Regions from separate parts of the Homo sapiens genome. Here region 1 is linked to region 2. The links are contacts of gene promoters, found by promoter capture Hi-C in blood cells and fetal thymus (Javierre and others, 2016). All regions are on one chromosome and are shown on one strand. Each heading gives the region's core, a stretch centred on a gene start or on the middle of the fragment in contact. The rest is flanking DNA. Distances are from core to core; before and after follow the strand shown. Region 1 holds the start of PTGDS (prostaglandin D2 synthase). Region 2 holds the start of CCDC183 (coiled-coil domain containing 183).

The links. The method cuts DNA at HindIII sites, captures the fragments that hold promoters and counts their contacts. A CHiCAGO score of 5 or more calls a contact.
Region 1: the fragment with the promoter of PTGDS here is called in contact with the fragment with the promoter of CCDC183 in region 2 in 2 of 17 cell types (activated CD4 T cells and endothelial precursors); the score reaches 6.1 in activated CD4 T cells.

Annotation. Positions count from the first base shown.
Region 1 is chr9:136,976,022-136,981,936 of GRCh38, reverse strand. PTGDS (prostaglandin D2 synthase) reads right to left here and starts at 4,433. Exons shown (of 7, transcript NM_000954.6): 1 at 4,245-4,433; 2 at 2,805-2,944; 3 at 2,638-2,714; 4 at 1,875-1,991; 5 at 1,653-1,754; 6 at 1,082-1,104; 7 at 195-358. The coding sequence starts at 4,358. The coding sequence ends at 1,082. It also overlaps LOC124902312. RefSeq lists an enhancer at 2,394-3,373. The HindIII fragment of the contact is 17,671 bases long and covers 1-5,915 here.
Region 2 is chr9:136,793,709-136,799,446 of GRCh38, reverse strand. It overlaps CCDC183 (coiled-coil domain containing 183), which reads right to left and starts at 3,109. Exons shown (of 14, transcript NM_001039374.5): 1 at 2,980-3,109; 2 at 224-345. The coding sequence starts at 3,049. RefSeq lists a silencer at 2,176-2,470 and an enhancer at 3,187-3,688. The HindIII fragment of the contact is 12,043 bases long and covers 1-5,738 here.

The DNA of each region.
Region 1 (5,915 bases), core at 3,184-5,683, 180 kb before region 2:
ACTGTGTGGGGTGGGTGGGAGACAGTGAGGGACACCCCCTCCTAGCTGTCCTGACTCAAGACCCCACTGGGAGCAAACACTAGAGGGCCTGTTCCTTTGTTGACGTCAGGCTGAGATTTTAGAGGGGGAGGTCCGGGTGGCCAGGGCCAGGCCCAGGACGGGTGATGACAGCGCAGACAGCCAGGAGCCAGCTCTACTGACTTGCTTCCGGAGTTTATTGTGCAGGATGAAGCCTGAGTGGGCAGGGTTGCTTTGGCGGGGAGCCGGGGCAGGGGCTCGGGGAAGGAACAGAGCAGAGACATCCAGAGCGTGGGGGTCACCTGGCTGGCCGGGATCCCAGCTTCAGCCCTGGGGAGTCCTGAGGGGTGTGACCGAAAGGCTAGGATGGAGGACTGCAGTCTACCCCAGCCCACCTCCACTCCAGTCGATGGAGCAGGTGCGGGCTACGGGGACTTTTCTCTGCCCCCAGCCCCACTGAGCCCCGCTGAGAGAGCAAGATCCATCCCTGGGGCTTGGATCCCCGCTGCCCCAGGGTCTACAGACTCCACCCTTCCCAGCCCCAGGGTCCACAGACTCCAGCTCCAGCCTAGGCCTCCCTCCTGGGGGTGGTGGGTGAATCCGCCCTGAGCCTGCTCTCCGAGCTGTCCCACGGCATCCATGTAGCGTCCTTGGCCCTCCCCTTCCATCCCCTGTTCCCTCCCATCCTGTCTCCCCCACCCTGGTTTCCTCCTAGCCCAGGAGCCAGACACCCTTGCTGCCAGGTGGTCCCTGTGGTATAGCCCCTTGGCCTTGTCTGCCTGGGGCCTCGCACCTGCACCCCCCAACCATGAGCCTTCAGGAGTCAGCCCTGTTCCAGCCACTGGGACAGGTTTTCCTTCTGAGCCTCACACCTGTGCACCCATCAATGTGGGCAGCCCCAGTGTCTCCCGCCCGGCCCTGGACTGCAGCCATCGGGAAGGATGGGTCTGCAGCACCAGGCTGTCCTGGGGCCCTGATCCATCCCATCGCAGAGTGGGTTGGGTGGATGTGTGTTGAATGAATGAATGAATGAATGAATGAATGAATGAATGGAGTGGCTCACCTATTGTTCCGTCATGCACTTATCTGCCAAGAAAGAAGCCAGGGGCTGTCGTCAGAACCCCAGACTTAGGCCAATTTTCCCACTGGGCTTCCTGTTCCTCCCGTAACGCAGAGCTCGTCTTGACTGAGCCCCCAAACTGCACAGATCCCCCATCACCTCCCACCTCTCCCTGGGCACTGGAAACAAAGAGAGGGTCTTTCTCCACCTCTGCCAAGAGCAGGCTGTCCACCCCTAGGAGGCTGTGCCTGAGCCCAGTATGGTTGGTTCCCCTGTATCCCCCATGGGCACCCTCTACCCTATGCCCCCCACCAGGCTGAAGCCCCACATCCTGGGAGCTGCTGGGGCCTGGCACAGAGTGGGCGCCTGGTCTCCATGTCCCCCATGGAGGGGGCTCCTCATGAAGGGGCTGCGGGAGGGAGGTTCTGACTTGAACACTCACCCCCTCTGTCCCTGGCCCAGGCCTCGAGCAGGGCGGGGCCACCTCCTCCCCTCTGCCTCCCCCAGTCAGGAGACTGCCTGCCTGCCTCTAATCTGACCTTGATCCTCTCCCCATCAGATTAGGACCCCTCACCGGTTTGGGGCAGGAAGACAATGGTATCCTCTGTGAAGCCCTGGGCCTTGCAGAAGGCGGTGAATTTCTCCTTTAACTCAGCCCTGGGGGTCTGGGTTCGGCCTGGGACAGGGTGGAGACGGAGCTGGCCTCAGCGGGGGGGATGCTGTGTGCCCTGCCCTGGGTCTTGGGGAGCCCCCTCTGGTCAGGCCTGCGTGTGGGCGGCGTCCACGGGGCACGTACTGTAGAGGGTGGCCATGCGGAAGTCCTCGCCAGGGCCCTTGCTGCCCTGGCTGTACAGCAGCGCGTACTGGTCGTAGTCGGTCTCCACCACTGACACGGAGTAGGTGCTGCCCCAGTCTGGGAACCCAAGAGACAACCCTGTCGGGGACTCAGCCCCCCAAACCTCACCTCTGCTTCAGGGAAGGGGTGCACCTGTGGGCTTTGGGGGCACTCAGCCCCTCGGCTGGCCCGGGATGCTCCCCCACCCGGCTGCTCTCCAGCCAGTGCCCTGCTCTCGCCTGCACAGCCTGTGAACCCTGTCCCCAAACCAGAATCTGGGGGAGCCAGGCTCAGAAAACCAGGATTCCTGGTGCAGCCGCAGAAGTCGCTGCCAGAACCGGAAGTGAAGAGGTTTCCCCGTGGGAGCCATTCCCCAGGTGGGAGTGAGGAAACCCCTGGGTCCTGGGGAGGAGAATTGGGAGGAGGCATATGGAGGGGCCTTGGGGGGCTGCTTATGTGGGGAAAACTCCAGAGGGCAGGGAAGGGGCCTGACAAGACAATGGTGGGCTCCAGAGAGGATCCAACCCCCTGGAGGAAGGGTCTCTCTGTCCCTAACACTTGTGCATGGGTAGTCACGCCCAGGCCTGGCCTTTGCCTCTGACGCTGGTGGGGCAGCCATCACCTCCCACCCCATGGATCTCCGCGGCAGGGGGCTGGCCCAGAGTCGTCCCGGCAAGTGTCGCCCCCAGGCTGGGCCCAGGGGGCCGGTGGAGGCCCCACTCACGGGGACTCCGGTAGCTGTAGGAGCCGAGGGACCCCGCGGGCTGCAGCAGCATGGTTCGGGTCTCACACTGGTTTTTCCTGTAGGTGGGTGACCTCAGGGTCAGGGGTTAGGCCCGAGGGTGTCCCTGGACCTCTCCGTCCCAGAAACCCACCTGCCCGCTGTCCCACCTGAGGAAGGTGGAGGTCAGGTTGAGGCCACCATCCGTGGCAGGGGCCACCACAGACTTGCACATGGACAACGCCGCCTTCTTCTCCCGGAGCCAGCTCGAGTTGGAGGCGAGGCCCGCGCTGAACCAGCGCCCCAGGAACTGCGGCGAGCGACCCCCACCCGCGTCGGCCAGGACCCTCCGGACCCACCTGCGCCTACCTGCGGGGGCGCCTCTGCCGTCTACTCCTCCGGTCTCCAACCCGGCCCCGCCCCCACGCCCAATCCCCCGAGCAGCCACGCCCCTCACGCCCCGCCCCAGGAACTGACCCCCGCCCCTCAATCCCCGCCCCAGGAGATGACCCCGCCCCTCACATCTCCGCCCCAGGAGCTGACCACGCCCCTCACATCCCCGCCCCAGGAGATGACCCCGCCCCTCACATCCCCGCCCCAGGAGCTGACCACGCCCCTCACGACCCCGCCCCAAGAGCTGGCCCCGCCCTTCATGTCCACAACCAGGGAACTGACCGCGCCCCTCACGCCCCATGCCCCCCTAGGAGCTGACCCCGCCCCTCACGTCCCCGCCCCAGGAGCTGACCACGCCCATCAGGCCCCCGCCCCGCCCCGGGAGGTGGCCCCGCCCCTCACGCCCCGCCCCAGGAGATGACCACGCCCCACTTCCCCCTCCCCCGGAGATGGCCCCGCCCCTCACGCCTCAGCCCCAGAAGCTGGCCACGCCCCTGACACCCAGCACCCCCGTCTGGCCACGCCCCTCCCGAGGACAGTCCCTCACCCTCGCACGCCGCCCACCAGCCAGCTTCGGCCCCTCCGCCCCCGGTCCCGATTCTGTGCCCTGGCTGAGCGCCTGGCCCATACAGCGGGCGGCAGAGGACGTCGCATTCCTGGCGGGGATCGGGGCGGGTCTTCGGCTCAGCTCTGCGGACCGCTGGGGTTCTCCTCGACGCCAGGGAGGGGCGCGCGGCGCGGGGACCCGCGCTCCGGCGCTTCCCCGAGCAGCTCCCGGGCGAGAGCGCGCGTCGCCGGCTGTCTGTGCGGTGCGCGTCCCTCCCAACCCCCACCGCGCACGGAGTGTTTGTCGCCATCCCTGTGCCCCACCCGCCCGTGTCCTGGCACCCAGGTGTGGAACGTGCGCTCGTGTGTCCTCTGGGGGTCGCGTGCCCACAGGGGTGGACGTGTCTGGCTGGCGTGGGCGCGTGTGTGGCCCGGTGTCTGCGTGGCCCATCAGGGGAGACGGGACGCGGTGCCCAGGGAGGGCTTCTCGCGGGCAGCCTCCTCGGGCGGCTACCCAGCCTCCTTCCTGCGCGCCCGCTCAGTCCCTGGCCGGCACTGCCCGGCACTGCGGGACTTCGCTCACTCCTCCCAGGGGGAAGACCCAGCCGGAAAGTGCCCTTCCCCTGACAGGGTCCTGTAGCCCTTGGGGATGACGCAGGAAAGCCCCTCACCTTGTCCTGCTGGAAGTTGGGCTGCACGGAGACCTGGGCCTCCGGTGCTGCCTGCAGGTCGCCCAGCACCCCCAGCAGGGCCAGTCCCATCCACAGTGTGTGATGAGTAGCCATTCTCCTGCAGCAGAGCGGGTGTCCGGGGCCTGGTGCCAGTGGTGTGGGAGAGCGAGGGAGGTGTGCAGGAGGAGCGGAGGGCACTGAGGAGACCCCTATTTATGGGCCAGGCTTGGCCTCCACCCAGGGCCCGGGGACAGCCCACTGAACACTCGTGATGCTGGGGGATGGGGTGGCCAGGCACAGCTGCAGCCTCGTCCCCCACAGGGCGCTTATGCAAGAGGCCTGGGCCTGCTGCCCCAGCTGAGGCAGCGTGGGGGTGAGGCAGAGGCCCCTGCCCACTGGTCCCAGAGACAGAGCTGGCAGGGACCTTGCCCACCCTCCTCCTGCTGGCAGGGCCCACCAACCCAGCGGCCCTGATAGGGCAGGGGCTGTGTTCCTCAGCCATGCCCGCCTCCGAGGCCTCTGGTGACTTCCCACTGGGGGCCAGGACCCACATCTCACAGCCCCTACCATCATTCCCTTTCCGAGCCCTGCCACCCCAGAAGGGGACACAAGCCCCACTTCCACCCTGAGAGTTTGGTCCTGAAACGCCCAGCAAGTGAAGTGTTGATGAGAAGCTCAGGCCAAGGTAGAGAAACTTGATCTGGCCCGCAGGGTCCCGAGGGCCAGGTTTGCTGGGCATGGCTTCCCCCATGGCCAGCTGTTGGGGCTCTGATAGTGACCCCTGGGTGCCCATTTCAGCCTGGGGCACCTTTGGGCTTGAGCACAGGCCCTATCCCTTGCCAGAGGCCCCAACTTCCCCCAGCAATCCCCCCACCCCAAGTCTGCCCCCCGCCGAGTCTGGGCCTCCCCACCCCGAGTCTGGTCCAGACTCGGGAGCACCCCGTGGGGCTGTCCTGTTACCCCAGCGCTGCACCCAGCTCCTTGGGCCCCTCCAGCTCGTTGGCCCTGGCTGGGGCCCTGTCACAGGCCGTCACAGGCAGGCACATGTGGTGGGCCCTCTCTGGATTCTGTTGGGACTGAGCTTCCCTGGCAGGCGTGGTGGGTGAGCGCTGCCGCTGGTCTGAAGGTGAGCCCGGGTGGGGAGCTGGGAAATGTACATGAGAGCAGGAGTGAGTCGGATGGGGTGGGGTGGTGAGCTTCTACGGGGCTGCTGGCGACCACTGGGGGCCGGAGCCCGTCTTCTTCCTGGATTCTGTGGCCCATCCCTTGCTGGGGGCGCACGAGCCCTGGGAGTGGGCTGGTGTGGACTGCTTCCTTGTTCCCCTTCCCCAGTGCCCGGGGGTCAAGGAGCCCAGACTGGGGGAGGCGCATGCCTATGTAGCAGCAGGGGCTAGTGGGCAGCACTGGTGTCAGGGCTGGTGGGGGTGGCCGGGTAGCATCCCAGGCAGAGGCCAAGGTGAGGGAGTGAGTCCCAGGGAGCCGGGAGGCACCTGAGAGGCAGGGAGAAGGAGGGCAGCGGTGCAGGGGGGCCAAGGCAGTCCTGAGAACCCACTCCTCCACCTGGACCTCCTATCAACCCCTGCCTGAAGCAGCAGCGTGCTGCTAGCTCAGATGCCATCTGTGCCATGGGCTGAGAGGGAGAGTCTGTTGGAACAGATAGGGGTGGGGTGC
Region 2 (5,738 bases), core at 1,860-4,359:
CACAGATGCCAAGCCCTCGGGTTGGGTGGTGGGAAACCTGCCCACCGGATGCTGGGGTGACTGGAGCCCAGGGCACAGGTCCTAGCAGAGCCCCTCCTCACATGCCCCCTGGATCCAGAAAGATTGGGGTGGGGGTGGAGAGGAGGTGCCCGCCCTCCGAGTGTGTGTGTACTCAGCTCCTGCCCTGCTCGCCAGGCAGAGGGGAGGGGCGGCGTTTGTGTACCTTCTTGGCCAAAGCCCAGTCCTGGGCCCCGCGGCGGATGTTGCTGCGCAGGAGGGCCAGCGTGGCCTTGTTCTGGTCCATATTCTCTTTCACCCCTTGGATCTGGAGTGCCCGACACTGCTCTGTGGGCAGGTGGAGGGGACACAGTGGCTAGGATTGGGCCAAGGGCCTGGCCTGGAATCCCCTGGGGGAGGCTTGCATCAGGGAGGCCCCAGGCCCCAGGGTCCAGGGGGATGCCCCCTCCATGGCCAAGATCCCTCCTCCCGCCCTGTCCTGGGGGACACCGCTCCACTGCCCAGCAGCAGCTGTCTGAAGGGCTCTCAGTGGACAGGTGCGGGGAGGTGGACAGGTGGGGAGGGTGAGGCAAAGGAGAGGGATGGCAGGGTCCTGTGGTCCCGTCCAGATTTGCTGCCCATGGAAGCAGGTGGGTGTTTTCCTGTCCATTCTGGCTTTGGGGCCCGTGTTGCTCTTATGCTCACGTCTCCTTGAAGCCCCTCTCTCTGATTTAGTCCCTCCATGCAGGTCCCTTTGATCCCTTCTCCCAGCTCTGTCAGGGAGTGGGCAGTAGGGGGGTCTGTTTTCCCCTCCATGTCCTGGATTGTCCCTGTATTAAAACTAAAAGTCCTAGGCCAGGAGCGGTGGCTCACACCTGTAATCCCAGCACTTTGGGAGGCCGAAGTGGGCGGATCACCTGTGGTCAGGAGTTCGAGACCAGCCTGGCCAACATGGTGAAACCCCATCTCTACTAAAAATACAAAACTAGCTGGGTGTGGTGGTGTGTGCCTGTAGTCCCAGCTACTCAGGAGGCTGAGGCAGAATTGTTTGAACCCAGGAGGTGGAGGTTGCAGTGAGCTGAGATTGCACCACTGCACTCCACCTGGACGACAGAATGAGACTCTGTCTCAAAAAAATAAATAAGCTAGGCGCCGGTGGCTCATGCCTGTAATCCCAGCACTTTGGGAGGCCGAGGCGGATGGATCACCTGAGGTCAGGAGTTTGAGACCAGCCTGGCCAAGATGGGTAAACCCCGTCTCTACTAAAAATACAAAAATTAGCTGGGCGTGGTGGTGGGCACCTGTAATCCCAGCTACTCGGGAGGCTGAGGCAGGAGAATCACTTGAACCCGGGAGGTGGAGGTTGCAGTGTGCTGAGATTGCACCATTGCACTCCAGCCTGGGTGACAGAGCGAGACTGCGTCTCAAAATAAATAAATAAATAAAAATACAAATACGAAAATTAGCTGAGTGTGGTGGCGTACACCTGATGTCCCAACTAATCAAGAGGCTGAGCCAGGAGAATCGCTCGAACCCGGGAGGTGGAGGTTGCAGTGAGCCGAGATCATGCCACTGCACTCGAGCCTGCGTGACAGAGCGAGACTCTGTCTCCAAACAAACATCCCCTAAAAGTGAAGGGGGCCTGCCCCTCCACACCTGCGGGTATTTCTCGTCAGGTGGGATGAAGACTGAGAAAAGAAATAAGACACAGAGGCTGGGCATGGTGGCTCACGCCTGTAATCCCAGCACTTTGGGAGGCTGATGCGGGCAGATCACGAGGTCAGGTGATCGAGACCATCCTGGCTAACACGGTGAAACCGCATCTCTACTAAAAATACAAAAAATTAGCCGGGCATGGTGGTGGGTGCCTGTAGTCCCAGCTACTTGGGAGGCTGAGGCAGGAGAATGACGTGAACCCAGGAGGTGGAGCTTGCAGTGAGCCGAGATCGCGCCACTGCACTGCCGTCTGGGCAACAGAGCAAGACTCCATCTCATAAAAAAAAAAAAAAAAGACACAAAGTATAGAGAAAGAACAGTGGGCCCAGGGGACTGGCACACTCAGCATGCGAGGACCTGCACCAGCCCTGGTCTCTGAGTTCCCTCAGTATTTACTGATCATTATTTTTACTATCTTGGTGAGGGGAGTGTAGCAGGGCAACAGGTGGTGAGAACGTCAGCAGGGAAACATGTGAGCAAAGGAATCTTTATCATGAATAAGTTCAAGGAAAGGTACTATGCCCAGATGTGCACGTAGGCCAGATTTGTTTCACGTTACACAAACATCTCAGTGTAGCAAAGAGTAACAGAGCAGTATTGCTGCCAGCATATCTTGCCTCTAGCCACAGAGCGGTTTTCTCCTATCTTAGAATAGAACGAATGGGAATGGTCGGCTTTACACTGAGACATTCCATTCCCAGGGACGAGCAGGAGACAGATGCCTTCCTCTTATCTCAACTGCAAAGAGGCCTCCCTCTTTCACTACTCCTCAGCACAGACCCTTTACTGGTGTCGGGCTGGGGGATGGTAAGATCTTTCCTTTCCCACGAGGCCATATCTCAGGCTGTCTCAGTGGGGGGAAACCTTGGACAATTCCCAGGCTTTCCTGGGCAGAGGTCCCTGCGGCTTTCTGCAGTGCACTGTGTCCCTGGTTAATCAAGAATGGAGGATGGGGATGACTTTTACCAAGCATACTGCCTGCAAACACATTGTTAACAAAGCACATCCTGCACGGCCCTAAATGCATTAATCTTTGATTCAATACAGCACATGTTTCTGTGAGCACAGAGTTGGGGCTAAAGTTACAGGTTAATAGCATCTCAAAGCAGAAACAATTTTTCTTAGTACAGATCAAAATGGAGTTTCTTATGTCTTCCTTTTCTACATAGACAGTAACAATCTGATCTCTCTTTTCCCCACAAAAAGTTGTGCACCCAGAAACCCCCAGACGGGAAAGGGAGACTGGTCACGGCGGTGCAGGCTCACCCTGGAGCTGAGTGATGGTCTTCAGCTCCTGGGTCTGCTCTTCCACATCTGTCTCACTGTGCCTCCTCATGGCTGCTCTCAGGCCCCCCAAGGGACCCTGTGTACCTCAAAGCCTCCCTGGGCTCAGCTTGCTCAGAGCCGCCACTCAGATTGTCCCCAGAACCTCAGCCCATTATGATGAGAGCCAGGATTCTCAGTGCCTGGGCAACCCTGGAATTGCAGGGCCTCCTGCCTCACTCTGCCCCCAGCCACCTTGGGGTGGCCTCCAGACATGTGTCCTAATTGAAATGAGTCTCCTGGCAGCTGCTCGAGGCTTAGGAGCTCTGCCGGGCGGATGTGCTTTCTTTGAGGGGGAGGTTTGTGATGGGTCTGCAGCACCGGCAGCTCACACCTGCACTGGGTTCCCTCCCTGGCCCCTCCCATGCCCCAAGCCATCCTCCACAAAGCAGCAGGCCGAGCCTCCTAAAACGATTCTGATACTATTCTGATACTGCCTTACGGGACCTCCCTCTGCACCCCCCACCCCCAGCCCCAAGTCCAAACTCCATGCACTGGGTAACCTGGCTCTTGGGACACCCCCACCTTATCTCTTCTGACTTCTGTCCCTGACCTCTCTGTGCTGTCTGGAGCCCACCCTGCTTCACCCCCACTTTCCTTTGGGAATTACTGGGTCTTGGGTTCATGTGTCACTCCAGAAAGGGTATGTTCTCCATCTCTGCACCCCCTCCACCCTTCCCTTAGAGGGGAGTACCTGGAGCACCAGGCAGCCTGGAACTCTGTGGGGTATGCACGAGATGGGGTACACACGAGATGGGGTACTTTTTCCCAGCCTTGCCTTAGTAGGCTCAGGCGGCCATAACAAGGTGCCACTGGCCAGGTGTGGAGGCTCACGCCTGTAATCCCAGCACTTTGGGAGGCTGAGGTGGGTGGGTCACCTGAGGTCAGGAGTTCAAGACCAGTCTGGTCAACATGGTGAAACCCCGTTTCTACTAAAAATACAAAAATTAGCCCAGTGTGGTGGTGGGCGCCTGTCCCAGCTACTTGGGAAGCCGAGGCAGGAGAATTGCTTGAATCCAGGAGGTGGAGGTTGCAGTGAGCTGAGATCGCGTCACTGCACTCCAGCCTGCGTGACAGAGTAAGACTCCATCTCAAAAAAACAAAAAACAAAAAAACAAAAAAACAAGGCGCCACCGACTGGGGGATGTGAACAGCAGCCTGGAGGCTGGGGGCTGAGATCACGGGTCAGCAGGGCTGGTGTCTCCTGAGGCCCCTCTCCTTGGCTTGCAGATGCTGTCTTCTCTGTGTCCTCACGTGGCCGTCCCTCTGTGTGTCTGTGTCCTAATTTCCTCTTCTTATGAGGACACCCCAATGACCTCATTTTACCTTAATGACCTCTGGAAAGCCCCTGTCTTCAAATACAGAGACATGCAGAGGTCCTGGGGGACAGAAATTTGGGGGGACCCAAGCCAGCCCGACAATGGCCTTTGCCCATGTGCTGTCACATAGATCCCTTCCCTTTCTGGTCACTGTTTTTGGAAAGCCAGTCCAGGCAAACTCCAGGTTCTCCCTTCTCTCCCTCCCACCCAGGCCTCACCCTCAGGGTGCTGGGATGTCCTGCTAAGGGTGTGGTCTGCTTACCTCCCCCTCGTTCTTGGGGGCCAGGCTTGGAATCTAGCTGAGGCAGAGCCTACCTGCTGTCCTTCTTCCTCAGATATAAAACACCTGAATTTTAGTGGGCGCATGGCTGCCCAGAGCAACTCTGCCTTCCTGAGCATCCTGGCACTGGATGTGCCTGATGACTTCGTTCAGGCCAACAGAGTGAGAGCAGCAGTGGCAGGCAAGCTGCCCTCTCTCCTGCCTCTTAAATGAGATAAAGACACAATGGCCGAAGCTGGTGCAGCCGCCTGGGGCCATGAGGCAGATTTGGGAACAGAGACCATTACAGCAGGGAGCAGACTGAAAGGAGCCTGGTCCCCGATTCCCTGTCAACCCTGGACCACTCACTTGGACTTTTACATGAAAGAAAAATAAAGCTCAGCCCGGCGCGGTGCCCAGCGGCTCACGCCTATAATCCCAGCACTTTGGGAGGCCGAGGTGGGCAGATCACATGAGGTCAGGAGTTTGAGACCAGCCTGGCCAACATAGTGAAACCCCGTCTCTACTAAAAATACAGAATTAGCTGGGCATGGTGGCGCATACCTGTAATCCCAGCTACTCGGGAGGCTGAGGCAGGAGAATCGCTTGAACCCGGGCAGCAGAGGTTGTGGCGAGCTGAGACTGCACCACTGCACTCCAGCCTGGGCAACAAGAGTGAAACTCCATCTCAAAATAAATAAATAAATAAATATTAGCCAGGCGTGGTGGTGGGTGCCTATAATCCCAGCTACTTGGGAGGCTGAGGCAGGAGAATGGCTTGAACTGGTGAGGTGGAAGTTGCAGTGAGCCGACATCACGCCATTGCCCTCCAGCCTGGGTGACAGAGCGAGACTCTGTCTCCAAACAACGACGACAACACCACAAAAAACAGAAAAATAAAGCTCCATCTTGCTGAAGCCACTGTCAACTTGAGCTTCCTGTCACTCTGAAGGCCCAGTAGGTACTCAATAAACTTTCTTTCCAGTGCCTGGCAAGGTGAGGCGTGGCAGCTGAGCTGGGTCGGGGGCAGCAGGGCCCATGCTGTGGGTCTTCGGTGCTGCGGGGAAGCCAGCTGTAACCATGATGGACTTGTGGAGGTTCCGTCTGGTCTCCACCTCTTCCTC